Regions from separate parts of the Homo sapiens genome. Here region 1 is linked to region 2. The links are contacts of gene promoters, found by promoter capture Hi-C in blood cells and fetal thymus (Javierre and others, 2016). All regions are on one chromosome and are shown on one strand. Each heading gives the region's core, a stretch centred on a gene start or on the middle of the fragment in contact. The rest is flanking DNA. Distances are from core to core; before and after follow the strand shown.

Region 1 (6,426 bases), core at 1,543-4,042, 400 kb after region 2:
TAATTCACAAATAGTAATATATCTCATCTTATGGGCGGATCATGAGGTCAGGAGTTCAAGACCAGCCTGGTCAACATAGTAAAAGTCCGTCTCCACTAAAAATACAAAAAAATAAGCTGGGCATGGTGGCAGGCACCTGTAGTCCCAGCTACTGGGGAGGCTGAGGCAGGAGAATTTCTTGAGCCCAGGAGTCGGAGGCTGGAGTGAGCCGAGATCGTGCCACTGCACTCCAGCCTTGGCGACACAGCAAGACTCTGTCTCAAAAAAAAAAAAAAAAAAAGTTTTTCACTCAGTATTCTGCCTAGGTGTTTAATCTGCTGATTTCGAGTCTTGCATAGTATTAATATTTCATGTGTGCAACTACCACATTTTACCTATCCACTCTTCTCAGTGATGGATTTGCGAATGTCCTCCAACTCATTGCCACTTCAAATAATGCCTTAATAAACAATTCCTTACATGTTCTCTCATAACCTATGCAAACATTGCTGAGTCATAGGAACCTGTAATGGTTCCAATATCCTCAAAGTCCTGCCAAAATCTGGCATCATCTGGCTTCCTAAATTTTGCCAACTTAATAAGTATAAAGTTTTTATTACTTTTTTAACTATTCATAAACCTTGAAAAAGAAAACTACCACCTTTCTTTCCTATTAAAGGAGTATAAAGTAATAACAAAACCTAAGGAATATATTGTGAAAGCAAAAACCACAGAAAAATTCAAATATGGATGCAAAATTCTAAAATATAACTGGACTCCAACACATTAAAAGAATAGTATATCAGAATCATAAATATATATTATAGGATTTATTCCAGGAATGCAAGAATAGTTCAATATTAGCCCCAAAATAGATAGATGGATGGATGAATGAATGAAATCATCTCCAAAGACTCTGAAATACCCATTCTGGATAAGAATATGCTATAAAGTAGGAATAGTTGGATATTTCCTTAGTATTGCAAAAATATATCTATCTCAGCTCAAAAGCTATAAAAAAGCCAGGTGTGGTGGCTCACGCCTGTAATCTCAGCATTTTGGGAGGCCGAGATGGGTGGATCACCTGAGGTCAGGGGTTCGAGACGAGCCTGGCCAGCATGGTGAAACCCAATCTCTACTAAAAATACAAAAATTAGCCAGGCATGGTGGCAGGCGCCTGTAATCCCAGCTCTTCGGGAGGCTGAGGCAGGAGAATCGCTTAAAGATTGAGGCGAAGGTTGCAGTGAGCCGAGATCATGCCACTGCACTCCAGCCTGGGCAACAGAGCAAGACACTGTCTCAAAAAAAAAAAAAAATTAAGATAGGTACATGTATTAGCAGCTACTAAATTAGTAGTGCAGGTCTAGAGAATCAACCAAAAAAATAGATGCAAAATTAATTCACAGAAATCTATAGCTTTAATACACACAAAATAATCAGAAGATATAAAGGAACGAAAAAACCTATTTACAAGAGTAACAAAAAACTTAAAATACTTAGAAATAAATCTGACAAGAAATGTGAGAGACATATGAAGAAAACTTTAAAAACATAAAAAGAAAGCTTGAACCTAGTACATTTTTGGTTAGAAAGTTCTATAGCATAAGACGTGGTTTCTCCCTAAGTCAATCCACATGATCCTATTAAAAATAGTAACAAGTTCTTGCAATTGAACTAGACAAGGTGATCCTAAATTTCATATAAAAAATAAACAACAGGACGGGTGCGGTGGCTCACGCCTGTAATCCCAGCACTTTGGGAGGCTGAGGTAGGCAGATCACTCGAGGTTAGGAGTTTGAGAAAAGCCTGGCCAACATGGTGAAACCCCATCTCTACTAAAAACACAAAAATTAGCCAGGCGTGGGGGCAGGCGCCTGTAATCCCAGCTACTCAGCAGGCTGAGACAAGAGAATCGCTTGAACCCAGGAGGTGGAGGTTGCAGTAAGCTGAGATCACGCCCCTGCACTCCAGCCCGAGTGAGAGAGTGAGACTCCATCTCAAAAAATAAAAAATAAACAAACAAACAACAGGCTGGGTGCAGTAGCTCATGCCTGTAATCCCAGCACTTTGTTCAGCTGAGGTGGGCAAATCACCTGAGGTCAAGAGTTTGAGACCAGCCTAGCCAACACTGAAAACCCCATCTCTATTAAAAATACAAGAAAAATTAGCCAGGCATGGAGGGTGATGCATGCCTGTAGTCCCAGGTACTCGGAGTGCTGAGCCAGGAAGAATCGCTTGAACCTGGGAGGCGGAGGTTGCAGTGAGTCAAGATGGCGCCACAGCACTCCAGTCTGAGTGACAGAGCAAGACTCCATCTCAAAAAAATAAACAAACAACAGATCAGTAACACAGAGGCACAACAAGATGGCAGAATAGGACCCGTCAGTGATAGTTCCCCACAGAAACATCAATTTGAACAACAATCCACAAAAGAAAATATCTTCGCTAGAGCTAGGAAAACCAGTTGATAGATAAAAGTACTAGATTTTACAAGGAGAAGAAGATGCATTAAAGATAATAGGAAGGACAGTCTCATATTATCTGTACCAACCCTTCCCCAACCCTAGGTAGTGATGAGAGACACCGCCCACATGGCAGAAGGAGAGGTTAGTGGACATGGGACTTTGCCTTAGAGCCCAGTACTAAGTCTGCCACAGTAATACACAGAACCAGAAAAAACCCCACAGCCTAATTCCAGGCCTGTGCCCACGGACAAAGATTGTGGACCCACACTAAGCACCAGAAAGGAATTCCCCACCCCATCAGGATGAATGGGATTCTCACATCACTGGGCCCCAAATAAATTTCAGCATGGTAGCAGCCTGGGCCTTGGGCATGACCCATTTCCACCCTGGTCCAAGAGGCCATAGGCTTCAGGTGTAGCCCTGCATAGCATCAGCTGTGGCAGCCACAGGACTGCCCACATCACCTTTCCCTCCAACTGTAGGCAACATGGTACAGAGAAAGACACCATCTACTTTAGGGAAGGAGACCGAATTATGCATGAAACTTTTCCTTGGAACCCAGTACCAAGCCCACAACAACAAAACCAGCACCTGGTTCAGGGCCCTGGCCAGCATTACCACACGAGGTGGGGAACTCTCCCTGGGTCTTACTCAGGTCCATCGGGGCCAGGGACATTGGAGTCTGTAACAGAGTCCCAGCTACATAGGCTTACAGTGCCCTCTAGCGCTAAGATGGCTACAGTGACCACAGGCTTAGGGAACTCAACAGTCAGGCTCCTTTGAATTCCTGGAAGGCTCTCTGAAAGACAGGTACAAACAAGGCCAGATTGCAAAAATTGGAATATATATCAATTTCTTCAATGCCCAGATATTGACACACATTGGAAAGCATCAAGAACATTAAGGGAACTATGACCTCACCAAACCAACTAAATAAGGTGCCAGTGATCCATCCTGAAGAGATTGAGAAGTATAATCTAAGACAGGGAATTCAAAATAGTTGTTTTGAGGTAGCCCAATAAACTTCAAGAAAACACAGAGAAATAATTCAGAAATCTATGAGAGAAACTTTACAAAGAGATTAAAATAATCTTGGCCAGGCGTGGTAGCTCATGCCTGTAATCCCAGCACTTTGGGAGGCCGAGGCAGGCAGATCACCTGAGGTCAGGAGTTCGAGACCAGCCTGACCAACATGGTAAAACCCCATCTCTACTAAAAATACAAAAAAAATTAGCCGGGCGCTGTGTCAGGTGCCTGTAATCCCAGCTACTCGGGAGGCTGAGGCAGGAGAATCGCTTGAACCCGGGAGGCGGAGGTTGCCGTGAGCCAAGATCACGCCACTGCACTCCAGCCTGGGCAACAAGAGTGAAACTCCATCTCAAAATAAATAAATAAGTAAATAATAATAATAATCTTTTAAAAATCAAACAGAAATCCTGGAGGTGAAATACACTGAACAAACAAAAATGCATTAAAATGCTGTCTTGACAGCAGAAATTATAAAGCAGAAGAATAAATCTGTGAGCTCAAAGACAGGATATTTGAAAATACAGAGGAGGAAAGAAAAAAAGAATGAAAAAGAACAAAAGAAAGCTTAAAGAATCTGTGTGATAGTGTCAAAAGAACAAATGTGGCCAGGCGCGGTGGCCCACGCCTGTAATCCTAGTATTTTGGGAGGCCGAGGTGGGTGGATCATGAGGTCAGGAGTTCAAGACCAGCGTGACCAACATGGTGAAACCCTGTCTCTACTAAAAATACAAAAAAAAAAAAAAAATCAGCCAGGCATGGTGGCTGGCGCCTATAATCTCAGCTACTTGGGAGGCTGAGGCAGGAGAATTGCTTGAACCCTGGAGGCGGAGGCTGCAGTGGGCAGGGATTGTGCCACTGCACTCCAGCCTGGGTGAACAGTGCAAGACTCCATCTAAAAAAAAAAAAAACAAACAAAACAAAAAAAACAAATGTACGAGTCACTGGCATTCAAGAGGGAGTGCAGAATGAGAACGGAGGGGAGTAGAAAGTTTATTCAAAGCAATAATAACAGGGAACTTTCCAAACCTAGAGAAAGATATAAATATTGAGGTATGGAAAGGTAAAAAGTTCCCAATTAAATTTAATGAAATAAGACTACTCCACGGCATATAATAATCAAATTCTCAAAGGTCAAGGACAAAGAAAAGGTCATTAAACCAGCAAGAGAAGAGAAGCAAATAGGCTAGGTGTGGTGGCTTATGCTTGTAATCCCAACACTTTAGGAGACTATGGTAGGAGGATTGCTTGAGGCCAGAAGTTCAAGACCAGCCTGGGCAACATAGTGAGACTCCCATTTCTACAAAACACTTAAATTAAACTGTAATTTTTAAAAAAGAAAACAAGCAAATAACAAGTAAAGGAGCTCCAATAGGTCTGGCAGCAGACTTCTCGGCAAAAACCTTACAGGCTAGGAGGGAGTGGGATGACAGTCAAAGTGCTGAAGGAAAAAAACATCAACCAAGAATACTTCATCCAGTAAAACTATCCTTCAGACATGAAGAAGAGAGGAAAGACTTTCCCAGACAAATGAAAATTGGGGAAATTCATCAACACCAGACCTGTCTTATATAACAACTGCTAAAGGCACTTCTTCAATCTGAAAGAAAAGGATGCTAATGTGTAACAAGCAAACATCTGAAGGTATAAAACTCACTGGTAAAACTAAGTACACAGACAAATTTAGAAAACTCTAATATTATAACTGTGATAGATAGACAACTCCTATCTTTGCTATGAAGAATAAAAGACAAAACTATTAAAAATAATAACAACAGGCCGGGCGCGGTGGCTCATGCCTGTAATCCCAATACTTTGGGAGGCCGAGGTGGGCAGATCATGAGGTCAGGAGTTGGAGACCAGCCTGGCCAACATAGCGAAACCCCGTCTCTACTAAAAATACAAAAATTAGCCAGGCATGGTGGTGCGCGCCTGTAATCCCAGCTGCTCAGGAGGCTGAGGCAGGAGAATCATTTGAACCCGGGAGGCAGAGGTTGCAGTGAACTGAGATTGTGCCACTGCACTCCAGCTTGGGCGACAGAGCAAGACTCTGACTAAAAAAACAAACAAACAAAAAATTTTAATCGTCTTTGTTCTATAACTGGGAAGATAAACTAGTAACTGACATTATCAGTGTGGAGTCTGCTGAAAGGGCTGGTTTCTGTTTAGCCCTTAGGGAAGAATGCCTAATATCTGTTAGCGAGGAAGGGGATATAAGCAGGTGTGTCCAACCTCCCATCAGGTCATGGTCATGCATTCAGCTTTTTTTTTTTTTTTTTTTTTTTTGAGTCAGAGTCTCACACTGTCACCTGCACTGGAGTGCAATGATGATCTCGGGTCACTGCAACCTCCACCCTCCCGGGTTCAAGCAATTCTCCTGCCTCAGCCTCCCAGGAAGCTAGGATTACAGGTGCATGCTGCCACGCCTGGCTAATTTTTTGTATTTTTAGTAGAGATGGGGTTTCACTATGTTGGCCAGGCTGGTCTCGAACTCCTGACTTTGTGATCAGCCTGCCTCAGCCTCCCAAAGTGCTGGGATTACAGGCGTGAGCCACCGTGCCTGGCCAGGGCATTTATTTCAACATCTTCTGTTGGTCATGCACTCAACTTTTAAGGTTTCTCTGGGGTCTCCCTGGCTGAGAGGAGGTCTGTTCAGTCAGTTGGAGGCTTAGAATTTTACTTTTATTTATCAATCAACATACAAAAATCAGTAGTGTTTCTATAGACCAAAAGCAAACTATCTGAAAAGGAAAGCAAGAACACAATCCCATTTACAATAGCTACAAAAAAATAAAGTCCCTAGGAATAAATTTAACCAAAGAGGTGAAAGATCTCTACAACGAAAACCGTAAAACACGGATGAAAGAAATTAAAGATGACATGAATCAGTGGAAATATATCCCATGTTCATGGATTGGAAGAATATTGTTAAAATGTCCATATCACCCAAAGCAAT
Region 2 (7,179 bases), core at 1,626-4,125:
ATTATAAGTCAAATTACACAGTATTTGTCTTTTTGTGACTGGCTTCTTTTATTTAGCCTAATGTCTGTAAGGTTCATCCATGCTGTGGCATGTGTCACAGTTTCCTTCCCTTTAAAGGCTGAATAATATTCCATTGCATGTATATGCCACATTTTGTTTATCCACTCAGCTGTTGATGGACACTTGGGTTCCTGCCACCATTTGACTATACTGAATAATGCTTCAATGAACACAGGTATACAAACATCTGTTCAAGACCCTGCTTTCACTTCTTTTGGATATATACCCAGAAGTGGAATTGCTGGATCACATGGGAATTCTATGTCTAATTTTGTTTTTTGAGGAACTGCTACATAACCATCTGTTTTTGCACCACTTAATAAACAGTCCGGCTGGGCGTGGTGGCTCACACCTATAATCCCAGCACTTTGGGAGGCCGAGGCGGGCGGATTACCTGAGGTCGGGAGTTTGAGACCAGCCTGACCAACATGGAGAGACATCGTGTCTACTAAAAATACAAAATTAGCCAGGCATTGTGGTGCATGCCTGTAATCCCAGCTACTTGGGAGGCTGAAGCAGGGGAATTGCTTGAACCCGGGAGGCGGAGGTTGTGGTGAGCTGAGATCACGCCACTGCACTCCAGCCTGGGTAACAAGAGCGAAACTCCATCTGAAAAAATAAATAAATAAGCAGTTCATAATTTCCTTCTCACTTGAAATGCTGTTATCTTTCATGTGTAAAATACTTGAATTTGGTATAAAGTAATAAAGTGAAATGGATAAGAATAGGGCCTTGTGAGTCATTTGAACTGGATTTTATTTATTATTATTTTTTGGTAGAGGTGGGAGTCTTGCTATGTTGCCCATCTCAAACTCCTGGGCTCAAGTAATCCTCCCGCCTTGGCCTCCCAAAGTGCTAACATTACAGGGGTGAGCCATTGTGCTGGCTGAATATCTGCTGTGTCACTTGGAAGCTGCATGTCCCTAACCAAATTATGTAACTTCTCTAAACTTCAGTTTTCTCAGTTTCTCATGACAGTAAAATAGAAGTAGTAACATCTACCTAAAGGATTGTTATTAATATATAGCTAGTGTTATTAATATACTAGTGCTTTGATTACATTAAGATGTTGATAAGTGGCTATTATTTCTTTTTATTTTCTGTTTTTTCTTTTTCTTTTTTTTTTTTTTTGAGACAGAGTTTTGCTCTTGTAGCCCAGGCTGGAGTGCCAGTGGCATGATCTTGGCTCACTGCAAACTCTACCTCCTGGGTTCAAGCAATTTTCCTGCCTCAGCCTCCTGAGTAGCTGGGATTACAGGCACCTGCCACCACACCCAGCTAATTTTTGTATCTTTAATAGACATGGGGTTTCACTGTGTTGTCCAGGCTGGTCTCGAACTCCTGACCTCAGGTGATCCACTCACCTTGGCCTCCCAAAGTGCTGGGATTACAGGCGTGAGCCACTGCCCCGACCTATTTCTGAACGTTCTAGTCTATTTCATTTATCTAGGAATGAAAGAAGAAAAAGAGAAGAGCGTGGGGTAGCATAAGAGAACTACAGAAGTAAAAGCATAGAGACAGGAAGGGACAAGGTAACTTTTAGGGCAATTTTTATCAAAATGTGGGACAATACCTATTGTGGGTTATAGTATCACTTTAATAACTACAACCAGTATTTTGGCTTAAATGCATAAACATATTGCAATTGAATAGAAAATATGACATATTGGAAGTATTGTTTCAGAAAATTTAAGTTTCAGTATATATATACATATTCTATATATACCCATTTAATTTTGTATAGGTGTACCGTGATAAGATGTAAAATGTATTTATTGTGGTTGTTGGGCAAAAAAGGCTGGAAAAACAGTATTTTAGCACCCAGGAAGTAGTTCATTTGAGCAGAAACATTGTTTAGGCAGGAAAGTTCTATAAATCAAGGTGGACCACAGCATTTGGAAAGCCTCCTCTACTTTTCACATTGTTTGGAGCTTTATTTTCTTCCCTTTGTTAAAAATATACTTTAAAATTATTTGTTTTGTAAAAAATTTAAAATACAAATGAAGGTAAAGTAGCTCTTGACCACCTTCTTCCTCCAATCCGAATCCTGGCCCTCAGAGTTACTACTTTGCCCTTTCCCCTTTCAGACTTACTCCTTCACATTTAAATGCCTATGTGTGCAAATATATAGTTTGCAGCAACTTGGCTTTTTTTTCTCTCAATTTATCTTGATCTTTTCACGCAGATTTATCTTGCTCAAGAGCTGCACAGTATTTCAAAATGCGAATGTACCATAGTATATCTTGTCTTTCCTCTATCGATGAATGACTAGGTTTCCAATTTTTTGTTATTTCCCCCCGTGTCCCCCAATAAAGCTGGATCCCGAGCTTTTTTTGTACACATGTGCAAGTGCCCACGGGGTAGAATCCTAAAAATAGAAGATGTGTGAGTACTTTCTTTTTCATTTTGTAGGCTCTGGGGAACTACTGCAGGGAGGTTGGGATACAAAACATCCCCAGGCCAACAACCGGCCAGCTAGGACAGGTTCTTGCTTTAGCCCCCGACAAGTTTTCTTCCTTTCATAATGGACGCTGACTTTGTTTTTTTTACCTCGTAGATGCAACAGTTCCCAGCACCAAACCCAGATATACAACCATTCAGCTACCAAGAGCTACGCCTGATAAATTAGAGGGGAAAAAAAAAATCTCCAGTCCCTTCACGTCGTGACGCTTGCTTCCGGGAAGCGGGCCGGAAGCCACTCCTCGAGTCTGCGTCAAACCCGACTTCAGGGGCCGTCGTAAAAGTGTCGTCCCTGTCTCTCCGACCGGCCACAGGTTTCCGCTTGCCTCTGGCCGGGGGTCGGCAACTGCAGGCGTCAGTTTCCCTCAAGATGGCGGACGAGGAGGCTGGAGGTACTGAGAGGATGGAAATCAGCGCGGAGTTACCCCAGACCCCTCAGCGTCTGGCATCTGTAAGTCCCTATAGGCAAGTCTCTTTTGTCCTCCCCCCGGTCCCTCCCTACTGCGCTTAGGAGGATGTGGGGCTTCACCCCTTATGGCGGCTCTGGGGAGGGGGAGTTATCTGGATTGATCTGGAAGGAAGCCACCGAATAAAAAGTTAGTCGCAACCCACATTTCTGCCAGCCAAGTCTACGGAATATAATGACTTTGTTATGTATTATTCTTGATGATCTCAAGTGTGCATGTCTCTATTCTGAAGTAGAAAGAACCAGTGATGTTATTAGACGGTTTGATGTGGGGGCCGAGGCGGGGTTGGAGCAAGAGCCATTTTCGTATAGAAGCAGTACTAACCCTTTACTCTTGATGATGGGAACGCAGCACCTGGTATTTTATTGCATAGCCTGCTGGCCGGGACCTGATATTGGTAGGTAGTGCTGCTACTGTCAAGTCATGTCTAGATGTGAGGTGTAGTAATTGTCCTTGCGTATAGCATCTTGGGAACCCCAGGCCTAACCCTCAGTGGAGAAACCCATCATCTGTCGCTACTTTTTAAAGGTGAAGAAAGGACTCCCAAACATTTCAAGCCAGAGCAATACCATTAATTGATGTCGGAATCTATACTTTGCTCTTGCATTTTGAAAGAATGGGAAGGCACAGATAGTGAACAAATTTGAGTCACTAGCTACAGGGAGAAAGCTGCCGAGGAAGATAAGAGTAGGGGGCAATGTTAGGGAATGTTCTGGATGCCCAGGGCATCTAGTGTGGAGATATGTAGAAAATATTCAAATATCTGTCACCGCATGATGTTTTATTAGTTTGTCTTTCTAAATAGCAGCATTTAGAGATTTGGGATATACACATTTTTTCTGAAGTTTCTTTGGCTTGTAGTTTAATAAAAACATTATTTTATTTTATTTATTTTTTGAGGCAGAGTTTTGCTCTTGTTGCCCAGGCTGAAGTGCAGTGGTGTAATCTCGGCTCACTGCAACCTTCCGAGTTCAGGAATTGAACTGCAAATTCCCGAGTTCAGGAATTCTCCTGCCTCAGCCTCTTGAGTAGCTGGGATTACAGGTGCCTGCCACCATGCTTGCCTAATTTTTTTTATTTTTATTTTTATTAGAGACGGGGTTTCACCATGTTGGCCAGGCTGATCTCGAACTCCTGACCTCAGGTGATCCACCTGCCTCGGCATCCCAAAGTGCTGGGATTACAGATTAAAAGCATTCTTGAAGGTTTTTTGTTTTTTTTTTTAACCCTGCATACAATTGAACATTGTTTTATGCGAGAACAGAGGGAACTACAGAGGGAGCTACGGCATGAGTCAACTCCAGGGACTGAAGAGACTGTCTAGGAGGTAGGAACAAGGTAGGGAGGGAGTTGGAAAAAGGATTTGGCCACTGACTATGTCAGTGCTTGCCGTTTTCCTCCACCCCAAATAGCAGTTCAAATTCACTTCACTACTGTTCCTGAAGGAGGAAGCATCTTATTTGAGATGATAAGGAATGAGGAGGTAGGACAAATTTAAAAGCAACTGAAACATTTTAATGGTAGTTTGTGAGTTTTGCTTGTTAGAAGGAGTGGGGAAACTGCTGTGGTCAGAAGAATTGTTATAGTTTTGTATCTGAAGACTAATATTTATTTAAAGCTTTGATACATTAATTTTTTCCAGATAATACAATAAAACCCCATCATTCTGGACGTCACTAATTTGGAATTGGAGATAATGATACAGGAATTGAGCTAGAATTTATGTGGCAACTCTTTACCTCAGGAAATATTATTAGATTTTGTTGGGCAGGGCTTTGGGTTTTGCAAAGTAGTAGGTAGATTGTGTAATATAGCCTCAAGGAACTCACAGTCTGGTGACACAGGTAATATAAGGGCCCAAATAATTTTAATTCAAGGTAGAGTAATGTCAGTAAATGAAGTCCTGTGACTGTTAAGCTTTATAACCCCTTTTTTGGCTTGGATCTCTCTGTCTACTGAAGACCCTACAGATCATTCTACCTCTCTCTTTCTCTTTTTCTCTTTTAAAAGCTATTACTGTTTTTAATTTTATTCTAGCCATGGTATGACACTGGCTTCCAAGTTTACTACTTTGCTGTTAAGCAATACAAGCTCAGTTGTTCCCCCTACTCCTTATTGTTTATCTTTAGACAAAGTTAAATAGTATGGGACATTTATAGAGGTTTAAGCAATCGTACAATTTCCATTAGAGTCTAATCCCTGGTTATAGTCTCTGATTTCCTTAAACTTCCTTCTTAGTCTGCAGATCCTTTTTCATTCATATTGCTATTAGTAAGCGTGAAGGCTGTAGTATTCCTAACATTATCTCACATGCAATTCAAATAAAATAATACGTATGAATTAGTGGACATTGATAAAAGCCATTGCTTAAGAATTACCAGGGGAACTGATACTGTAGGTCTGAGGTGAGGTCCAAGAATCTGCATTTTCACAAGCATGTCCTGCTGATTCTGTAATAGTGGTGTATGGGCCACACTTTGAGTAACACTTAGCTAGGTATTTGGAAGTTATCAGTAAATTTATAGTTGAGGTTGTGGGAATGGATAACATCCTTTTTGTTTTGAGACAGGGTTTCGCTTTGTCACCCAGGTTGGAGTGCAGTGGCACAAACAACTCATTGCAGCCTCAATCTCTTGGGCTCAGATGATCTTCCCACCTCAACCTCCTGAGTAGCTGGGAATATAGGCATGTGCCACCATGCCGAGTTAATTTTTTGCATATTTTGTAGAGACAGGGTTTAATTTAATTTAATTTATTTAAGACAGAGTCCTACTCCATCACCCAGGCTGTGGTATAGTGGTGCCATCTTGGCTCACTATAACTTCCACCTCCCAGGTTCAAGCAATTCTTGTGCCTCAGCCTCCCAAGTAGCTGGAATTACAGGTGTGTTCCACCACACCTGGCTGATTTTTGTATTTTTAGTAGAGACAGGGTTTTGCCATATGGCCAGGCTGGTCTCGAACTCCTGACCTCAAGTGATCCATCTGCCTTGGCCTCCCAAAGTGGTGGGATTACAGGCGTGAGCCACTACGCCCAGCCCGGATAAGATCTTTGAGGAGGAAAATGTGTGCATATATATACACACACACAGAGGAAAAGAGAGTGAGACAGAGATGATGAGAAAGAGAGAACAGGAATGATTGAAACGGGTGGAAAATGGAAGAATGAGGTAAGAACGTGGAAACAATAGGCAAGCACGTAGGAGGTGAGAGTAGTGTGATGGCATGGGGTATTATTTTGAGAGGGTGGTTTATTGGGTCCATGATAATGAGGACTGAGAAAAATTGGGAATCAAGAGACTTGTGAGGTAGTCTGCCAGAACTTCTGCCTTCTGTCTTCCTCGACTAGATTTTCTTCCTTAAGTCAATTTCAGAAGATACCTCTTGGCATGATACTCAGCTCTTTTCTATTGCCTGTTTATAACCTCTACCTAGGGGATTTCATCTAGTTCTGTGACTTTAAATACCATTTGTATGTATTCAGTTCCCAAATTTATATCTCTGTGTCATCTCACTTCTGAACTCCAGAATCATAAATCCAACTGCCTACTTGACATCTTCACTTGGATGTCTGGTGTTTCAAACAGTGGGAGCAATTAAGAAGTTGCTGCTGTAACCCAAGCCATAGTTGATGGTAGCTTGCACTGGAAAGGTTATCCTTGGAGATAGAGTGAAGAGGATGAATGTGAGAAAGATTTTAGAAGGATGGAAGAAGCAAAAAGACTTGCTGATAGATTAGGCATGAGGCAAAAGGTAAGGAATAGATGATATCTGCATCCTCAGTTTTTGGTTTAAGCATTCATGGCAGCGGTTGTGTTGTTTCCAGCGGTATGATCTCGGCTCATTGCAACCTCTTTGTCCCAAGTTCAAGTGATTCTCTTGCCTCAGCCTCCCGAGTAGCTGGAATTACAGGCATGCACCACCATGCCTGGCTTTTTTTTTTTTTTTTTTTTTTTTTGTGAGCCAAGGTCTCTCTCTGTCGCCAAGGCTGGAGTGCGTGGCGAGATCTCGGCTCACTGAAACCTCTACCTCCCGGGTTCAAGCGATTCTCCTGCCTCAACCTTCCAAGTAGCTGGGATTACAGGTGCCTGCCACCACGCCTGGTTAATTTTTGTATTTTTAGTAAAGAGAGGGGTTTCACCATGTTGGCCAGGTTGGTCTTGAACTCCTGACCTCAGGCAAGCCGCCCACCT

What was found. Contacts are between HindIII fragments. The CHiCAGO score rates a contact against its expected background, and 5 or more counts as called.
Region 1: a contact is called between a fragment that was not itself captured here and the fragment with the promoter of UBR1 in region 2, in 1 of 17 cell types (fetal thymus). The highest score is 5.6, in fetal thymus.

What each region holds. Positions count from the first base shown.
Region 1 is chr15:42,701,323-42,707,748 of GRCh38, reverse strand. All of the region lies in intron 26 of STARD9 (StAR related lipid transfer domain containing 9), which reads right to left. Among named protein-coding and RNA genes, the nearest start is that of CDAN1, 33 kb to the left of the region's middle. The HindIII fragment of the contact is 2,495 bases long and covers 1,545-4,039 here.
Region 2 is chr15:43,101,734-43,108,912 of GRCh38, reverse strand. UBR1 (ubiquitin protein ligase E3 component n-recognin 1) reads left to right here and starts at 2,875. Exons shown (of 47, transcript NM_174916.3): 1 at 2,875-2,971. The coding sequence starts at 2,891. RefSeq lists an enhancer at 2,777-3,056. The HindIII fragment of the contact is 7,548 bases long and covers 1-4,607 here.